Regions from separate parts of the Homo sapiens genome. Here regions 1, 2, 3, 5, 6 and 7 are each linked to region 4. Evidence: promoter capture Hi-C in 16 types of primary human blood cells and fetal thymus (Javierre and others, 2016). All regions are on one chromosome and are shown on one strand. Each heading gives the region's core, a stretch centred on a gene start or on the middle of the fragment in contact. The rest is flanking DNA. Distances are from core to core; before and after follow the strand shown.

Region 1 (2,700 bases), core at 104-2,603, 420 kb before region 4:
TCTTAGATGAGGATCATGCTTCTTCATCTCTGCCTGAAAGAGAAAGTTGTTATTATTATTATTATTATTATTATTATTATTTTGAGATGGAGTTTCACTCTTGTTGCCCAGGCTGGAGTGCAATGGTGTGATCTTGGCTCACCACAATGTCCGCCTCTTGGGTTCAAGCGATTCTCCTGCCTCAGCCTCCCGTGTAGCTGGGGTTACAGGCATGTGCCACCATGCCTGGCTAATTTTGTATTTTTAGTAGAGACAGGGTTTCTCCATGTTGGTCAGGCTGGTCTCGAACTCCCAACCTCAGGTGATCTGCCCGCCTCGGCCTCCCAAAGTGCTGGGATTATAGGCGTGAGCCACCGCGCCCATCCAAAAAAGGTGTTTTTTCCCCTCTTTGTTATGCAAGTTATTTTAGTTTGGGTCTCCACAGCAAGCTTGAATATTTCTTTGAAATTTACCGCTTATCTTAAAATTATTGTAAACTTTTCAATCTACTCCATTATACATCTGTTTGTTATATAAGTAATGTTTTAAATTACTTTCTATTAAGCAAAATAGATTTTCTGAAAAGATATACCATATTTATCTTTTGATTCTATTATTCTCTAGCTGTGAGTTCTTCTTGGCATTGAGCTTGAGCATGAACATACGGAATTACAACCTGACTACCCACCACCCGCAACCCCAATCCTCTGGAGCAACTTTGAGAGCTTGAGCCTTTGTAAAATTGCATCTTTGGAACACACAACCATATCCAGCTCTTAGAGGGTGACAAACAGAAAAGAACTTTCCAGACAAGGTCAGGACAGTCAGAGACACTGCAATGCCCTGTGGCATATGCAACATCCATGCCTTCTTTCAACAACTTCCTTCCTGATTGGGACCTTGGCATCATGTACTCACTGGCCTCAGGTGAATCACTCATTTATTGAGTTCTCAGCTGAGTGCAGCAGCACCAGCTCCAGGTCAACCTGAATGTTATTTAGAAAGCCAGGGATAGAGATCCTGGTCTGGGTGTATGTGTGAGTCAGGACGTCCCCATGCCTCTGGATCCGGTTGATGTGCCTTACTGCCCAGCATCCATTCACTCTTCTCTCATAACCACACCCCAATATCCTTCTGGGGAACCACCCCTAATGCACTTCCATTCTATCTCCTTCAGGTGGCCTTGGCTTCTTCGGGGTGTGGAACATATGACTGAGGTCTGAGCAATCAGGATATTTCAGTTCCCAACCAGGGACTGAATATGACACAACCAGGGCAAATAAAGTAAAATCCTATTGAGCTTAAAACCTAAAAGATACACAATCTAGATCTTCTGTAGAAATCTCAGGATCAGGAAGACAGACTCTCTGAAAATAAGGCCAAAACACAGAATAGGCCATGGCTAATTGACCATGTGCTGAAGAGAAGCTGGGTCCTGGTTAACAGGGGTTGGTTGCAGCAAACTACCCTTGAACCCAATGCTACCCCTGAACTTTTCTGTTATCTTAGCTAGTAAATTACATTTTTCCAAAGGCCTAGTTGGGTTGGATTTTTGGTCTTTTGGAACCAAATGAATTCTAACTATATGTTCCATGTAAGCATGGCTCTTGCTTCCATGGGCTATGGAAGAAAATGGGGAGGGGGGAGCCTCCCAGGGCATCCAGGCTGCCTAACCAAGGATGAAAGTCCAACGCCAGGCAGTAATTCAGTCTTGTTATTCTTGTTGAGCAGGCCATGACATGTGCTCTGGATTGGTGAATACTGTAAATTTTTCTCGTTCTTGCCTTTCCCAAGTGGTGGCTTTATGGCCATTCTCTTGTTCTCTCTCCACCATGGTACATTGAATGAATTAGGGGTTGTCAAAATTATTATGAGGCATGATATTTTGCCTTGACTGACAAAATTGCATATCATCCAGAGATCTTAGGCTTGATGCTGGATTAGACTTGGATGATTTTTTTTTTGGACAAGTAGGGAGTTTATTTTAAGTAAGTACAGAAACTTGCAAGGTGTGGAAGGAAGGATGTATGTGTATGGTGTTCCAGGAAGCCAAAAGAGGGGATGTAATGGATTTCAGTTGTATTTTGCCACCCAGTCAGTATTTACTCTTATTCTGACAACTCTATGTGATTTCCCCTGGGGAGGTCACCTCATCCTGATTCCCTCAATGATACATTCATATCTAGATGTGGAACATCCAATTTGGTATCTACATGTGACCCAAAGAAAGCCAAAGATACACCGTGGGGCTTTTTCTAAACTCTCTGGGAAAGATATTCTTGCTCTTTCTAGTTGGAATTGAAGCTTAAAGAAGAGAAGATCTGGAATGACTATAGCCATCTTATGACCACAGAGAGAGAACTTACTTGAGTATAAAGCTGACCATAAGGAGGACAGCAGATCTATCTGAGCCAAAAGATGGCGTTGTGATATTTTAAATCTATGCCTTATAGTACCCGAAGTCAATTCCATCCTTAGACTTTTCAGGTAAATGAGGCCACCCTTTCCAATTTATCAAAATATATTTTCTGCTGGGTTTTCTGCCATTTTCAACTGGAAGAGTCCCATCTGATATCCTGGACAAGTACCACACTCCTGGAGATGATGTCCTGAAAGAAGAGCTTGCTCACTTGAGAGCAGGTAGTTTATTTGGAAGATAATCCCTGGAAGTAGAAATGAGGGGGTAGGGAGAGTAAGACAAGAAGGATCAACCCTTCTGGG
Region 2 (2,700 bases), core at 121-2,620, 390 kb before region 4:
AAAGGGCCGGGAGAGAGAGGAAGCTGAGGTGGTGGAGGCCCAGCATTCGACAAGGAGAGAGGCGAGGAAAAAGCAGAAATAAATGAGTGATCATAAAGCTTCTCAAATACTACCATTTTCCCTAATTTTAAAATCCCAAAGAAAGGCTTTTCTCAATTTGCTTTATATAAGACAATTTTGGAAACATCTGAAGTTTGGCAGCAATTCCAGGAGAATTTGGCTCTGCAAATCCCAGTAGCTAATTGTACTACTGTTTGCCAGGGCCACAGACTAGGGTCGTTACACAGGACTTTATTTCTTCCCCGTTCCGGAGGCTGGAAGTCCAAGATCCAGGTGCCGGGAGGCTGGAAGTCCAAGATCCAGGTGCCGGGAGGCTGGAAGTCCAAGATCCAGGTGCTGGCAGGGTTGGTTCCTCCTGGGGCCACTCTCCTGAGCTGTAGATGCCATCTTCTCCCTGTGTCCCCACCTGGTCCTCCCTCTGTGTGTCTCCGGGTCCTAATTTCCTTTTCTTATAAGGACACCAGTGAGATTAGATTAAGTCCCACCCTAATGGCCTCACTTTCACTTAATTACCTCTTTTAGGGCTCCATCTTCAAATAGAGTCAAATTCTGAGGCACTGAAGGTTAAGATTTCAGCATATGAATTTTGGGGGGACATAATTCAGCCAATTGCACTAGTGACCATCTCAGGGGTCTGTAGAGCCAGCTGGTTCCCTACAACCAGTGCTCCCCATCTCCATTACAGGAGCCACTGCAGGTAGCCCCAGGTCATGGTGGCCACCACGGACCACTGCCTTCAGCACCCTCCCTCCCTCCTCCATCTCTTCTGTCATCCCCCACAGTGACACACACATTACTCTCGTGGATCCTAAATGTGAATCGACTGCTCCTCATTCATCCTGGGTGTACCCAACATCTTCGAGTCATCTCAGGGCCACTCCTATTTGTTGCTTCGATCTTTGGCTACTTGAACTTAAAGGGGTCAAATAAACAGACTTCAAAGCCATGGTGCATATAATAACGTTTGGAATTCAGGATGTAGACAGGGAACCTCCCTAAATGTCACAATTCTCTTAGCCCTATAGTAAGGCATGCCCCACATTAGAAAATAACAGCTCAGAGGAGGTTTTTCCCTGGGGATAGCTATGTCTCTAGGAAAATGTCCCATTCACGATGAGTCACCGCTGAGAGAGCATCAGCTCATGTTTTTGGTAATTTACTAATAAAATGGTATCTCTATTAAATACATATATAGAAAGGTAAAAATAGATTGAGCATTTTCTAAATAGCTCTGGCTCAAGGTAAGGTGGTGAAGGAGTTGTTAGTTCTTTTGGAGCAAAATAAAGCTGCTCTTCCTTCATCCCCAACCACACTTCAACTTCATCCTAGGACAAACAAGAAATCCTCCAAAGAAAGAAAATGAAAATGCTGTTCTTGACTGGATTGCTTCAGAAATATGCTTGGACTTGAGAGTTCCAGCTTTTCTGGGATTCATTCTTACAGAGTCTAACCCTTGTGGTTTTTTGGTAGGAGGCAATTTCTGTGCTGGTTATGATTTGAAGGAGCTGGCCCACAGCTCAACCTTGCTTAAATTGGAACAAGATGTCACCAGTGGTCTTGCTCCCATAGTAGGTACTAGAAAATAGATTCTTGATGGATGAATTTGAGGCCATTCCGGGAGACTCTTGTTAGTTTCCATGACTAGAAATGACACCACCATTCTGTCATTGCGTTTCAAGTGCCTTGTACCACGCAGGGAGTGTGAGTTGTAGTGGGTGGTTTTTTTTTTCTTTTCAATTTTTTTTTATTTCAAGCAATGAAGGTAATGGCAAAGAATTTTTCATAAAAACAAGTGACAAATTTCACTCGAGTTACTGACACATAGAAGGAAAAAATTAGTTTTTGCTTTGAAGCTAACCAGAAACAAATGGGACTGTTTCTCCAAAGGAAAAGTTGGAGTTTAGTTATGATACATCCCCTCCCAGAAATCTAGGAAATTATACATACTGTACCCTCTGTTTATAAGAATATGAATAACATGATTGTGTGCACAGGGTCAATTGCAGTTCAGATGAGAATTTACCGCTGCTGAGCTGCAAATGGATAAAGACAGAGAGAGCTGCTGTTAACCCCTTATTAACACAGCCCAAATGCCTTTCTTTAAAGGAAAACTTAGACCAAAAGCTCCTTGAGGCCAGGAAAGATGTCTTCAATATCTTTAGATATTTCCCCACCTCCAGTGCGGGTCCCGGTGGTTGGCACACAGTAGCTGTTCAAGTGAATGAACGAATCACTTTTGATCAAAAGAAGAAGCAGGGCTTGTTTTTCAAATTGAGAAATGGGAGTGGTTGTATTGTAGCTGCATTGTTGAGTCTCCTGTGTGCCACGTGATCCAGCAGGAGAATCATAACCGGGCTGAGCCCACTCTCTCCCATGCTGACAGTGCTCTTAGCAGCCGCGGCCACAACACGACCTCAGTGACAGCAGCCACGGCGGGCCAGGATCTGTGCTAAGGGTTTTCCATGCCTCCGTTGCACGTACCCTAACAACCACCCAAGGAGGGGGTGTTGTCTTTGTATCCCAGAACGGTTAAGCAGCTTACTTGGGATCACACAGTAAGTAGCGTGGCAAGAACTTGCACTCAAGCTTGTCTGAGTCCAAGAGCCACCCCAGCACACTGCTCACCATGGTCTTCCCAAA
Region 3 (2,700 bases), core at 91-2,590, 460 kb before region 4:
TTGTTTAAAAATAACAGGCAAAGGTTTATATGAAGCTTGTTTGTAATACATCATTATTTTCTAATCTGTGTTTTCCTCCCAAATTTTTATAGCCTAATTCAAAGGAATTAGGCTTATCAAAGCTGTTTTTATAATTTTGTATTATGAAATGCCTACTATAATTAGAATAAAATTGATTGACTTGAAAGGGAACCCTTTTTTCCCCATTAATTCAAAACCCTTTGACGAGTAAAAATGGCCATATATTGTTATGTATAGCCGTGTTAAACCATGGCCTCAGATTCACTGCAGCTCTCCTCTTAATATGTAGACAAGTAGTACCTCTTTTTTGTTGTAATGCTTAGTTCATAGTATGCTCTTATTTGAATTCTTTTTGCCTCTACCTAGGAACTTAATGAGGTTAGACTTTATCAAATATAAGTATCTGGAAAGAGCTACTGATTTTATGTTGTTCTATGAACCAGTTACTACTTTAGAATAAGTTAGCAAACAATAAAAGGATTCCTTTAGTAGCTCATGTTCTTTGTTTGCATTAGTGAGTAATGAAGTCTAGAAAGAATTGTTTTAAATTGCTTTTTTTACAGTTCCAATCATTTTTTTATTTGAGAAAATTTGAATCTCAAAACAAAAATTTTCTTCAATGTTTAATACATCATATCAAGGTATTGTATTTACTTTTTTTCACTAATGAGCAGATTTTAGAAAATTCTGTAACTACCGGGGGGCACTGCTATTAACTTTTTTCAATTAATTTGGTTAAGCCACTATGCTTCCTCCTCAGGAAATTAAAATGAGTTTAATTTAATCTGTGCTTTCCTGGCGTGAGGAGGTGTGGGATTTCTGCTACTTAATTATTTTGTGGCCCCTAGCTCTAAGTCCTTGCACAAGTGGGATATATTTTGAATATTGACCATCTAGCTTGATGTCTCATACAAAAAGATATTTTTTACACAGTTTTTAATATTTCCATAGTTTATTTTCAAAGGGACTGTAATGCATATTACTTATTAAAAGCATTTTTTCCCCCAACTTTGATGGGGAAAAGCATATCAACAGATACCTACTTTTGTAGATGGCTATAAAAATTGTTACCCAAAAGGCTTTCTTAGAGCAAATTGTCTCTTATGATTATTCCTGCCTGCCTCCATGGGATCTGTCTTTATATTGTTGGAGAGAATAGCAAACATCCATAATACATTTTTTTTTTTTTTGTGGATATAACATTCAGGATAGAATTGTTTGTCATTTATTGCTTAGATTGATATTTTGTATACTTAGGGATTATGAAAAAAGTTTGTGTTAATATTGCATTATTAAAGCACATGTTTAAAGATAATTATTAGATTTTAAGTTCACAATGCTTCATGTATTGTTTATTCTTGTGATTTTATTTTTACTTTAGGAATTTATTCTTCATTGCCTGTTGAAGTTCCTTTGAATCACAAACGGTTTGTTTGTGATCTAACTCAAGCTGATCGTCTTGCCCTCTATGATTTCGTAGTTGAGGAGACAAAGAAAAAGCGCTCTGATTCTCAAATTATTGAAAATGACAGCGATCTCTTTGTAGACTTGGCTGCCAAAATCAATCAAGGTTTGAGATGCACATCATGGCTTTACATTTCTTCATTATCATTTTATTCTATGAGTGTTATTAAGATGATTTAATTCTTGGGCCACTTTGAGTTAGAGTAAAATGGTTTTGTATCATTTAATATTGACATGAAGTTGGCCCTCTGTGTCTGTGGGTTCCATATCCATCAATTTGACCAACGGTGGATTGAAAATATTTGGAAAAAATAAAAGTGTGTGGTTGCCTCTGTACTATACATGTAGAGACTTTTTATTCTTGTCATAATTCCATAAACAATATATTAACAACTATTCATGCAGCATTTACATCGTATCAGGTTTTTGGTGTTTTTTTTGTTTTGTTTTTTTGAGACTGAGTCTTACTCTGTCACCCGGGCTGGAATGCAGTAGCGCGATCTCAGTTCGTTGCAATCTCTGCCTCCCAAGCTGAAGCAATTCTCGTGCCTCAGCCTCCTGAGTAGCTGGGATTACAGACATGTGCCACCACACCTGGCTACTTTTTGTATTTTTAGTAGAGATGGGGTTTTGCTACGCTGGCCAGGCTGGTCCCAAACTCCTGGCCTCAAGTGATCCTCCTGTCTTGGCCTCCCAAAGTGCTGGGATTACAACGTGAGCCACTGTACCCGGCCTGTATTAGGTATTGAAAGTAATTTAGAGATGACTTCAAGTGTACTGGAGGGTGTGTGTAGGTTATATACAAATACTACACCATTTTATATCAGAGACTTGAGCATCCATGGATTTTGATATCCTTGGGGGTTCCTGAACAAATTCTGCATGGATACTGAGGGATATTTACTCAGTACCTGAGGTTTTACTCTGACTTTTACATTAAATGTACCTTCTTTCTGTGAAAATATTACAACTGTGCTGTTACTTTAATCTATGTACCTAAGCACTCTTATGTTCAACTAATGGCTGGAGAGAAGAAATGATATAAAACTTAGCCCGTGTATATAAATAATATACAATTTTTAGAATGTTTTTATGTGCTACTTTGAAACAAGTTAAAATATAGGATTGTGATGTATTTATTTGATAATTCATAGAATTTAAAAGCTTTGAAGGATATAATACTTTTATTTTATTCTTTCATTAGACAATAGTCGA
Region 4 (2,700 bases), core at 134-2,633:
ATCAGAGTTACACTTATCAACATAAATATAAAAAATAATACGTATTTTATAATAAATATAATAAAAAAGCAAGTTTCAGAAGGATTAAAGCAATTTACATAAAACTTTAAAATATTCAAAATATTTCCTTTTGGGATATAGACAGAAGCAACAAAACTATAAAGAAATGCACAAGAATAATAAACACCAAATTCTGGATAGTGGCTACCTTGAGACGAGGGAGGGGAACTAGTGCAATTAGAGCAAGACACAGTGGGGCTTTTAGTAATTTATTTATTAAGGTGGGTGGTGAATGTTCATTGTAAGTCTCTTTTTCATAAGTCTGAAAAAGTCATTAAGAAAAGGTCTGAATTTAAGTCTTTTGGTGAGTCAGTTTATTATTCTTCTTAGTTACAACTATGTAGTTTAAAATGTAAGTCTCAAAATTCCTTGAGAAATTAAATCTAAGACAATGTATTATTCATATTCATTCACTGGCAATGTTCCCCAAATTTTTCATTTTTGCAGACATACGATGGGCAGGTTTCAATTCTCTATTTTAATGAATTTTATTAGTACATATCTTCTTAAGCATGTCAAGTAGAAAAAATAATACAAGCACTGTATATAAGCACTTTATATCTGGTATATATAAAGCACTACAACTCAACTGTCAAAGACTTTCACGCAGCAAACAGCGTTGTGAGCTTTAGGAGTCAAACCTAAAGCAGATTCTGTGAGAATCTAGGTTGTAACCTTCTCCCAGCTCAAAGCACACAGAACACATGGACATTTCTGAACGTGAATGGTTCTTTACAGTGCTATAGAGCGCCTTCGTAAGTGTATCTCACTTACTCCTCGCACGACCAGGAACAGATCGGGTAGGAGAGTGAGTAAAGCCAGTGACCCGAAGTCACTCAACTCCTAAGCGACTGCCTCCCGCCTCCCAGGTCCAATGCCCTTTCCACTACACGTCGGTGGCGAGGCTGCCCAAAGGCTCTGCGCCCAGGGGTCCTGAGCTTGCGGAATGGACGGGGGCGGGCCTGATGGCTCAGGCTGCGACAGAGGAAAGCGGGGAAACACGAAGAGTTGGGCTGGTTGGTTGTGGTGGGACGCATTTGGCGCGGGGAAAAAGGCGGGGACCGACCACGACTCCCCCACCCGCACAAACGCACGCGCGCCAGCCCGGGACCCGGGGGTCGGCCCGGGTCAGAGGGCGCCGCCTGGGAGATGAGGCTGTGCTGGGATCCACCAGGAACTATAGCCCTGACACTCCGTACCCTTGATAATGAGGTGCGCTGAGCCCGCAGTCCCCAGGGAGTCCCTCTTCTTGCTGCCACCGCCCGGGGCGGCCTCACAACCCACAGGGGTCTCTGTCCCTCCGCCACTCATCCCGACCAGTTCCGCCCACCCGCGGCCACGCTGCGCCTGCGCAAACCCGGCCGCCCTCTTACAAGGCGCGCCCGGGTTTTTTTTGTGTGTGTGTCATTACAGGGCGCCGGAGAAATTTAATCTACCCAGCGGGCGGTTCCGGAAAGGCGCCTGCCGTGTAGTCAGGCTGTGAACTGGCAGAAGCTCTTGCCGCCATGCTGGATCAGGGCGGATGCTGCTAGAATAGGAAGGTGCTTGAACTTTGGAGCTAAACTCAGAGCCCTGGTTATTTGGCTCAAAGCTGGTGCATTCCAGTACAGTTGTCCTCCCATATCTGCTGAGAATACATTCCAAGACCCCCAGTAGATTCCTGAAACTGCATATAGTACTGAACCATGTATATACTATGTTTTTTCCTGTATATACATATGATAAAGTTTATAAATTAGGCACAGTAAGAGATGAACAATTAGAACAATTTAATAAAAGTTATGTGAATGTAGTCTCTCTCCCAAAATATCTTATTGTACCGTCCTGCGGGTAATGAAACCACAGAAAGTGAAACCTCAGATAAGGGGGGACTACTGTATAGCAAAGCCAATTAGCTGGGGGCTGTTTCCCTACTATGCCATGAGTGTGGCTGACTATTCCTGCCTTTCTTTTTAGACACCTGTTTCCTAGAATGCTTCTCTTGCTCCCTCTTTCTGTTCAAGTCAGTAAACTCACGTTGTATAATAAAGAATTTGACTGGACTTTGACTCTGGTTCCTGGGAGGTACCCTCAATCCTTAGAATTTCCCAAGTGATAGAAGTGTCTTTGTTATTCATGGTGGGCCTCTGGAAATACACCTGAGTTTATGCTAATGAGATGGCTCATGGAGGGCCCAAGATGATTTCAGAATGGAGGCTGGCCACACCAGAAGGGCCGGCCAACCATGAGGGCTTAGGCTTTGAGTCACATAAGCAGGCCCACCTCTGGGGAGCAGATTGGGGCTGGAGACTGAGTTCAGCCATGTGGCCAGTGATTTAACCAACTATGCCTACATAATGGAACCCCAGTGAGTACTCTGGATGTGGAAGCTCAGGTGAGCTTACTGGTCGATAATCATTCATCAAAGTGTCAGGAGGGGGAAGCGTTCCTGAGGACACGTAAGCTTCTATTTGGGAAATCTCCCACATCTCGCCCTATACATCTCTTCATTTGGCTGGTCCTGATATGTGTCCTTTATAATAAAACTGTAATAGCAAGGAAAGCACTTTCTTGAGTTCTATGAGTCATTCTGTGAAACCTGAGGGAGTAAAGCGAATAGCAATGAAACATCATGTGTAGAGAGAAGCTGCGTGGGTGAGA
Region 5 (2,700 bases), core at 20-2,519, 380 kb before region 4:
GAGGATCCCTTGAGGCCAGGAGTTTGAGACCAGCCTGGGCAACATATAAGATCCTGTCTCTAAAAATTTTTTTTAAAAATAAATTTACATTTACATTCAAATATGTAAGTTAAGAGCAGGCATTGATATCACATTTCCCCAGCAAGTCTGTATTACGTTCAGTTTTAATTAAAACTGAAAAAAGTAAAAGATCTCCAAAGACTATAAAGTTGGAATGTGGCATCATATGAAAGTGATTTTACAAACCTAAATTTAAATTATCCCTTTGTTAATCTTAAAAAATGTTTTTCAGCTGTTACCTGCAAATTTTTTTCTTACTTAATTTTAATCTCGTTAGGTTGATATTCTTACTTTAATTAATTATGAACCCCAAATTAATTCTAGATAGAAAAGTGTTTACACAGAAGAAAGTGAAGTCCTAAGAAAAAAAAAGGAAATATTGGTGAGAACTTTTGAATAATCTTTGAGTGGAAAACAGCTTTCTACCATACTACCAAACTCAGGAACCACAGTGGAAAATAATCATAAATTTGACTATAGACTTAAAAAAACTCGTTGTAGCAGGAATCTTCATAAAGTAAAAGCACAAACAAATGTATTTACAACATAATGGCAATAAACAGTCTGATTTCCATAAACTGTACAAAAAGTTCTTTTAAATTTGTTTTTAAAATAATAGAAAAATGGGAAAGGGAATTCATATATGAAGAAATACAAATGGCTAATGAATATTAAATACTCAGTATCAATTATTAAAGAAAATCAGATTAAAGCTTTACTTTTGAAAATAAGTTAATTATTTACAAGGAAGTGTAATACTTTCAATCAACCAGCCGAATTATTTTATCTCTTCCTGAATTTTCAACTTGCCATGCATACCTTTAGCAGAATCTTCAGGAAACGATTTCTGTGAAAATGACCCCTTCAGCAATTAGAATGACTAAAAAAGAGAAAAGATGATCTTATAGGTTCACAAGGGTGCAGAGCAACTGGAAGTCTCATTCATTGCTGGTGGGAACGCAAACAGCTCAACGACTTTGGAAAACACTTTGGCAGTATCTTGTGAAGTTAAACACACATTTTCCACACAATGCAGCAATCCCACTCCTAGGTGTTTACCCAAGAGAACTGGGAACTTTTGTTCATATAAAAATTGTGCGTGAATGTTTCTAGCATATTTATTCACATTCATCAAAAGCTGGGAACAACCCAAATATCTTCAACTGTTGAGTGGGTAAACAAACCGTGGTATGTCCAAATAATGGAATACTGCTCAGGACTAAAAGGGAACAAATTACTGATTAATGTAACAACATAGATAAATTTCATACTAAGTGACAGAAGCCAAACTTAAAAGACACATTTTGTACAATTCTGTTTACATGACATCCTGGAAAACACAAAATTATAGGAACAGATCAGTGGTTGCCAGGAGTCCAACATGGGGGCTTGGGTTGATTACAAAAGGGCAGTGTGAGGAAATTTGGGGGGTGATGGAACTGTTCTGTCTTGATTATGGTGGTCTAACTGCACGCACTTGTCAGATTCACAGAAATACACATCAGAGAAGTTAATTGTATTGTACATAAATTAAGTGAATTTAGAATTTATGTCTTTCTAAATTATTGTATTAGATTGAGAGCAAAACAGGTTGTTATTTCTCCATTTTTTGACTTAGATTTGATTATCTTTGTTCCTTTTTTTCTGAAGTAGACTTCTACATTGATGTATAACATACATATAAAAGTGCACAGATCATACCTGTAAAGCTTGATGAACTATTACAACTGTCATGTGTTTAACCAACTGCCACCCAGATCAAGAGACAGGCTGGGCACAGTGGCTCACTCCTGGAATCCCAGCACTTTGGGAGATGGCGGTGGGAGGATTACTCGAGACCACGAGTTTGTGACCAGCCTGGGCAACACAGAGAGACCTTGTCTCTACAAAATACAAAAATTAGCTGGGCATCGTGACACATGTGTGTGGTCCCAGCTACTCGGGAGGCTGAGATGGGAAGATCGCTTGAGCTCAGGGAGGTCGAGGCTGCAGTGAGCTGCAATTGCGCCACTGCACTCCAGCCTGGGTGACAGAATAAGACCCTGTCTCAAAAACCAGACCAAAAAAGACAAAAAAAAATAGGACATTACCAGAAGCCCCTCCCTCACCCCCTTAATCTTCCAGAACCAGTATTCTGACTTCCAACACTAGAGATTATGTCTGTTTTTGAACTTGGTGCAGATAAAATCATACAGTATTGAATATTGCACTCTTGATAGGTTTACTTATATTTCAGGTTAGTTTTGTGTGTAAAGCAGCATAGATATACCAAATAACAATAAGGAGACTAGACTGGTCAAGCACTATGATTACTTCTAGGTCTCAAATGAAGTCTGAGAGTTGAGAGAACTCTGACATATTTTTTGTTTGAAATACATTTTTGGCCAACAAAATAGCCTTTTTGTTGTTGTTGTTTAAAGCTAATCTGAATGCATTTGGGAAATGCACACCATACTGTTTCTTTCTGATCTCCAGAAATCTATTTTTCTCCAGTATTATTTTTCGTAGTATGGGTAGACATCAGTCTTAAAATTGGCCTGACACCCTGATCCTGTCATACGATACATCCTTGGTACTTCACCCAGTGATGATCTATGAACTTTTCCTGCTTTGTTCTTTGGAGATCAGGCTTGACTTTTG
Region 6 (2,700 bases), core at 185-2,684, 480 kb before region 4:
GACCGTCAGCAGATATATGCAGCAGAAAAAGCTATCACTGGTTTTGATGATCCATTTTCAGGCAAGACAGTATCTGTTTCAGAAGCCATCAAGAAAAATTTGATTGATAGAGAAACCGGAATGCGCCTGCTGGAAGCCCAGATTGCTTCAGGGGGTGTAGTAGACCCTGTGAACAGTGTCTTTTTGCCAAAAGATGTCGCCTTGGCCCGGGGGCTGATTGATAGAGATTTGTATCGATCCCTGAATGATCCCCGAGATAGTCAGAAAAACTTTGTGGATCCAGTCACCAAAAAGAAGGTCAGTTACGTGCAGCTGAAGGAACGGTGCAGAATCGAACCACATACTGGTCTGCTCTTGCTTTCAGTACAGAAGAGAAGCATGTCCTTCCAAGGAATCAGACAACCTGTGACCGTCACTGAGCTAGTAGATTCTGGTATATTGAGACCGTCCACTGTCAATGAACTGGAATCTGGTCAGATTTCTTATGACGAGGTTGGTGAGAGAATTAAGGACTTCCTCCAGGGTTCAAGCTGCATAGCAGGCATATACAATGAGACCACAAAACAGAAGCTTGGCATTTATGAGGCCATGAAAATTGGCTTAGTCCGACCTGGTACTGCTCTGGAGTTGCTGGAAGCCCAAGCAGCTACTGGCTTTATAGTGGATCCTGTTAGCAACTTGAGGTTACCAGTGGAGGAAGCCTACAAGAGAGGTCTGGTGGGCATTGAGTTCAAAGAGAAGCTCCTGTCTGCAGAACGAGCTGTCACTGGGTATAATGATCCTGAAACAGGAAACATCATCTCTTTGTTCCAAGCCATGAATAAGGAACTCATCGAAAAGGGCCACGGTATTCGCTTATTAGAAGCACAGATCGCAACCGGGGGGATCATTGACCCAAAGGAGAGCCATCGTTTACCAGTTGACATAGCATATAAGAGGGGCTATTTCAATGAGGAACTCAGTGAGATTCTCTCAGATCCAAGTGATGATACCAAAGGATTTTTTGACCCCAACACTGAAGAAAATCTTACCTATCTGCAACTAAAAGAAAGATGCATTAAGGATGAGGAAACAGGGCTCTGTCTTCTGCCTCTGAAAGAAAAGAAGAAACAGGTGCAGACATCACAAAAGAATACCCTCAGGAAGCGTAGAGTGGTCATAGTTGACCCAGAAACCAATAAAGAAATGTCTGTTCAGGAGGCCTACAAGAAGGGCCTAATTGATTATGAAACCTTCAAAGAACTGTGTGAGCAGGAATGTGAATGGGAAGAAATAACCATCACGGGATCAGATGGCTCCACCAGGGTGGTCCTGGTAGATAGAAAGACAGGCAGTCAGTATGATATTCAAGATGCTATTGACAAGGGCCTTGTTGACAGGAAGTTCTTTGATCAGTACCGATCCGGCAGCCTCAGCCTCACTCAATTTGCTGACATGATCTCCTTGAAAAATGGTGTCGGCACCAGCAGCAGCATGGGCAGTGGTGTCAGCGATGATGTTTTTAGCAGCTCCCGACATGAATCAGTAAGTAAGATTTCCACCATATCCAGCGTCAGGAATTTAACCATAAGGAGCAGCTCTTTTTCAGACACCCTGGAAGAATCGAGCCCCATTGCAGCCATCTTTGACACAGAAAACCTGGAGAAAATCTCCATTACAGAAGGTATAGAGCGGGGCATCGTTGACAGCATCACGGGTCAGAGGCTTCTGGAGGCTCAGGCCTGCACAGGTGGCATCATCCACCCAACCACGGGCCAGAAGCTGTCACTTCAGGACGCAGTCTCCCAGGGTGTGATTGACCAAGACATGGCCACCAGGCTGAAGCCTGCTCAGAAAGCCTTCATAGGCTTCGAGGGTGTGAAGGGAAAGAAGAAGATGTCAGCAGCAGAGGCAGTGAAAGAAAAATGGCTCCCGTATGAGGCTGGCCAGCGCTTCCTGGAGTTCCAGTACCTCACGGGAGGTCTTGTTGACCCGGAAGTGCATGGGAGGATAAGCACCGAAGAAGCCATCCGGAAGGGGTTCATAGATGGCCGCGCCGCACAGAGGCTGCAAGACACCAGCAGCTATGCCAAAATCCTGACCTGCCCCAAAACCAAATTAAAAATATCCTATAAGGATGCCATAAATCGCTCCATGGTAGAAGATATCACTGGGCTGCGCCTTCTGGAAGCCGCCTCCGTGTCGTCCAAGGGCTTACCCAGCCCTTACAACATGTCTTCGGCTCCGGGGTCCCGCTCCGGCTCCCGCTCGGGATCTCGCTCCGGATCTCGCTCCGGGTCCCGCAGTGGGTCCCGGAGAGGAAGCTTTGACGCCACAGGGAATTCTTCCTACTCTTATTCCTACTCATTTAGCAGTAGTTCTATTGGGCACTAGTAGTCAGTTGGGAGTGGTTGCTATACCTTGACTTCATTTATATGAATTTCCACTTTATTAAATAATAGAAAAGAAAATCCCGGTGCTTGCAGTAGAGTGATAGGACATTCTATGCTTACAGAAAATATAGCCATGATTGAAATCAAATAGTAAAGGCTGTTCTGGCTTTTTATCTTCTTAGCTCATCTTAAATAAGCAGTACACTTGGATGCAGTGCGTCTGAAGTGCTAATCAGTTGTAACAATAGCACAAATCGAACTTAGGATTTGTTTCTTCTCTTCTGTGTTTCGATTTTTGATCAATTCTTTAATTTTGGAAGCCTATAAT
Region 7 (2,700 bases), core at 189-2,688, 440 kb before region 4:
AATATCTTAAGCTTTGTGGGCCATACAGTTTCTGTGGCAATGACTTGACTCCACTTTTGTAGCACAAAGCAGCCAGAGACAGTTGGTAAATGAAGGTGTGCGGCTGGGCACCATGGCATTTCATTTACCGAAAGAGGTGATGAGCAAGATTTGGCCCCCAGGCTGCCATTTGATGAGCTCTGCTCTAGGTCACTGCTTTTCAGTATTTAAAAACAGGATATTTTCTTCAAATCACCTTCAAGAGCATCTAACACATAAGCCTGATGAAAACAGTTGCTGCAGTTTAAGTTTGGGTGGGTGGGGGTCAGCCTAGAGCCTGGTCCTTCTCATGGTGACACCAAAGGAAACTCCATGGAGCTCCCTGGGTTCTGAGGAACCTAGAGTGAAGTCCACTGCCCCACTCCACATGGCCTGTCCCCAATACGCTTCCAAATGATCCTTCCTACATTTGTTGTGATGTTACTTATTATCCCCACAACTAGACAGTAAGACCCTTGAGAGCCTGGGCCAAGGCCTTGCCAGCTTTTTCCCTTCTCTATGGTGCCAAGCATGAGCCGAGACTCAGGCACAGCTGTTTAACGTGGAATAACCTGGGAACTTGGTCTAACCTGAGTTAGTCCCTGACTCAAGGTAATCAGTCGCTGAAGTACAGATGCTAGAGCTGGAAGAAGGCAGGGGTTCACTTTCTTCTCCGTGTGGGCCCCATCCCCCAATTTGTCAAGTGAGAGAATGAAGCCCATTCATTCATAATGTCATTCACATCTAAATTTGTGCTCTGACCAAGATTTTACTTTCTCACAGATATTAAGTTTGGGTTTATCCCCAACTAGGTTTATCCCCAGTGTTTTCGGAAATAAGTTCTCAAGGTTGTTATGGAATTATTAGAAGAAAAACAGTGGGTGGCAGTGGTGGTATGTGTGTGAGTGGGTTGGGGTGGGGTGGGGAAGTCGGTCAATGTGTGCAGTTCCTGCAATAGGAAAAGAAGCATGTGCTTCAGGTGAAGGGAATGCCGCTGACAAGGGTCCTTACTTATGCCTAGAATGATGCTGGGCAGACATCCTCAATATTGGGAGAATTAAATGGAATGGTAGCCTCCAGGAGCCCTCACTATCCTGCTACTCATTTTCTGAGTTCCTGAAGTTATAGAGTTAGTTACACAAAAACAAAAATAGACACATCATGAAAATATTTAATGACCACAAATAAAATCTTCCCCTGCTCGGCCAGGCATGGTGGCTCATGCCTGTAATCCCAACACTTTGGGAGGCAGAGGTGGGTGGATCACTTGAGGCCAGGAGTTCGAGACCAGCCTGGCCAACATGATGAAACCCCATTTCTACTAAAAATACAAAAATTAGCCGGGCATCGTGGCATACGCCTGTAATCCCAGCTACACAGGAGGCAGAGGCAGAGAATCACTTGAACCTGGGAAGTGAAGGCTGCAGTGAGTCGAGATTGTGCCACTGCGCTCCAGCCTGGGAGACAAAATGAGACTCCATCACAAAAAAAAAAAAAAAAAAAAAAATTCTTCCCCTGCTCAAACAACGTGTGTCCCAGATGCCAAATATCTCTGATGACAGTCTGGTGTTGTAAACACTCAATGCCATGATGCCAGAACACAGGGACTGCATAATGACAAGGTCCATCTAGCAAAACAGGTAGGGGTTTTTCATGAAGTTGATGAAAATGATGATGGATCACTGTTCAACCCCCCTGCAAAGCTGTCATGATGCAAATGAGGCTCCGGAAGAGGGAGAGACAAGTTGAGAAATGAAAAAGAGAAAGCTGACCAAAAAATCAGGTTGGATTCTTGAAAAGGGGATGATTTGAACATCAAAAGATGCAGAGAGACCCTCGGGAGAACTCATAAAGCAAATTTTTTTTGTTGCTGTTAAAATGACCGTGCTGTAAAAAGTAAAGGCAATGATCTTACACAATCATAAAATTTTACCAGAAATATTACCTTCTTTTGAAAAAGTCTGATTTACTTCTTGTTCATTTTGAAAATTAGTATATGGTTGAAATTATAACAAAAATTTTGTTAGATATAGGATTAAAACACATTTAATTTCATGTCCCCCATAAAATTTCAACCAAAACTCTTTTTTGATTATTTCAACCCAAAACTCTTTTTAAAAATTATTTGTTATGAAAACATTTTACCCCTTTTAATGGAGCTCACTCTAAGCCATCTTTCCTTGGTACCGAGTATACTTGGATAATGAGGACTGTTTTCCATAATGTTGGTGTAGAAAAAAACCTTCTTATAAGCAAGACACAAAATGCCAGAGGAAAAGACTGTGAGAATTGATTAGTAAAATGTTAATACTTTTGCATGATGAACTAATAGGCTACAACACCCTGGGTGAAAATATGTATAACAGATATAATCACAGAGCGGTTAATAGCCGTGATACAGAGAAAGCGATACGAGTCAAGAAAAAGAAAAGTAACCTGGAGGCAAAATGGGCCACAACCATAGTTGGTGGATTCACAGAAGAGGAAAAAGGGAGAAGGACTGGAGCGCGGTTAACAAACATGTGAAAAGATACCCACTCCTACCGGTAATCAGGTAAGGGCAAAATAAAGTATCAAACACCACTTCACCCATATGTGTGTGTCCTTTGACTTCACTACTAGAATTAGGAATGTATCCCCTAGAAATACTCACACAGAACTATTTACAAGTTGTTAGCATAT

The links. Contacts are between HindIII fragments. The CHiCAGO score rates a contact against its expected background, and 5 or more counts as called.
Region 1: a contact is called between a fragment that was not itself captured here and the fragment with the promoter of BLOC1S5 in region 4, in 4 of 17 cell types (M2 macrophages, monocytes, M1 macrophages and 1 more). The highest score is 8.8, in M2 macrophages.
Region 2: a fragment that was not itself captured here is called in contact with the fragment with the promoter of BLOC1S5 in region 4 in 2 of 17 cell types (erythroblasts and megakaryocytes); the score reaches 8.2 in erythroblasts.
Region 3: a contact is called between a fragment that was not itself captured here and the fragment with the promoter of BLOC1S5 in region 4, in 3 of 17 cell types (activated CD4 T cells, total CD8 T cells and naive CD4 T cells). The highest score is 5.4, in activated CD4 T cells.
Region 5: a fragment that was not itself captured here is called in contact with the fragment with the promoter of BLOC1S5 in region 4 in 3 of 17 cell types (M2 macrophages, monocytes and megakaryocytes); the score reaches 6.6 in M2 macrophages.
Region 6: a contact is called between a fragment that was not itself captured here and the fragment with the promoter of BLOC1S5 in region 4, in 2 of 17 cell types (total CD8 T cells and non-activated CD4 T cells). The highest score is 6.9, in total CD8 T cells.
Region 7: a contact is called between a fragment that was not itself captured here and the fragment with the promoter of BLOC1S5 in region 4, in 5 of 17 cell types (M2 macrophages, M0 macrophages, M1 macrophages and 2 more). The highest score is 8.9, in M2 macrophages.

What each region holds. Positions count from the first base shown.
Region 1 is chr6:7,643,653-7,646,352 of GRCh38, forward strand. No RefSeq gene overlaps it. Among named protein-coding and RNA genes, the nearest start is that of SNRNP48, 55 kb to the left of the region's middle. The HindIII fragment of the contact is 1,855 bases long and covers 427-2,281 here.
Region 2 is chr6:7,670,216-7,672,915 of GRCh38, forward strand. It overlaps LOC105374906 (a long non-coding RNA gene), which reads left to right and starts at 2,434. Exons shown (of 4, transcript XR_926437.4): 1 at 2,434-2,615. The HindIII fragment of the contact is 2,548 bases long and covers 97-2,644 here.
Region 3 is chr6:7,599,934-7,602,633 of GRCh38, forward strand. It overlaps SNRNP48 (small nuclear ribonucleoprotein U11/U12 subunit 48), which reads left to right. Exons shown (of 9, transcript NM_152551.4): 5 at 1,403-1,591; 6 at 2,690-2,700. Among named protein-coding and RNA genes, the nearest start is that of SNRNP48, 11 kb to the left of the region's middle. The HindIII fragment of the contact is 2,614 bases long and covers 34-2,647 here.
Region 4 is chr6:8,063,006-8,065,705 of GRCh38, forward strand. BLOC1S5 (biogenesis of lysosomal organelles complex 1 subunit 5) reads right to left here and starts at 1,384. Exons shown (of 5, transcript NM_201280.3): 1 at 1,260-1,384. The coding sequence starts at 1,371. It overlaps BLOC1S5-TXNDC5 (BLOC1S5-TXNDC5 readthrough (NMD candidate)), which reads right to left and starts at 1,409. Exons shown (of 13, transcript NR_037616.1): 1 at 1,260-1,409. The region is part of intron 3 of EEF1E1-BLOC1S5 (EEF1E1-BLOC1S5 readthrough (NMD candidate)); the gene reads right to left. RefSeq lists enhancers at 592-1,218, 828-1,017. The HindIII fragment of the contact is 8,031 bases long and covers 1-2,501 here.
Region 5 is chr6:7,686,830-7,689,529 of GRCh38, forward strand. All of the region lies in intron 2 of LOC105374906 (a long non-coding RNA gene), which reads left to right. Among named protein-coding and RNA genes, the nearest start is that of BMP6, 38 kb to the right of the region's middle. The HindIII fragment of the contact is 996 bases long and covers 772-1,767 here.
Region 6 is chr6:7,583,506-7,586,205 of GRCh38, forward strand. It overlaps DSP (desmoplakin), which reads left to right. Exons shown (of 24, transcript NM_004415.4): 24 at 1-2,700. The coding sequence ends at 2,373. Among named protein-coding and RNA genes, the nearest start is that of SNRNP48, 5.3 kb to the right of the region's middle. The HindIII fragment of the contact is 1,733 bases long and covers 569-2,301 here.
Region 7 is chr6:7,622,027-7,624,726 of GRCh38, forward strand. No RefSeq gene overlaps it. Among named protein-coding and RNA genes, the nearest start is that of SNRNP48, 33 kb to the left of the region's middle. The HindIII fragment of the contact is 2,859 bases long and covers 10-2,700 here.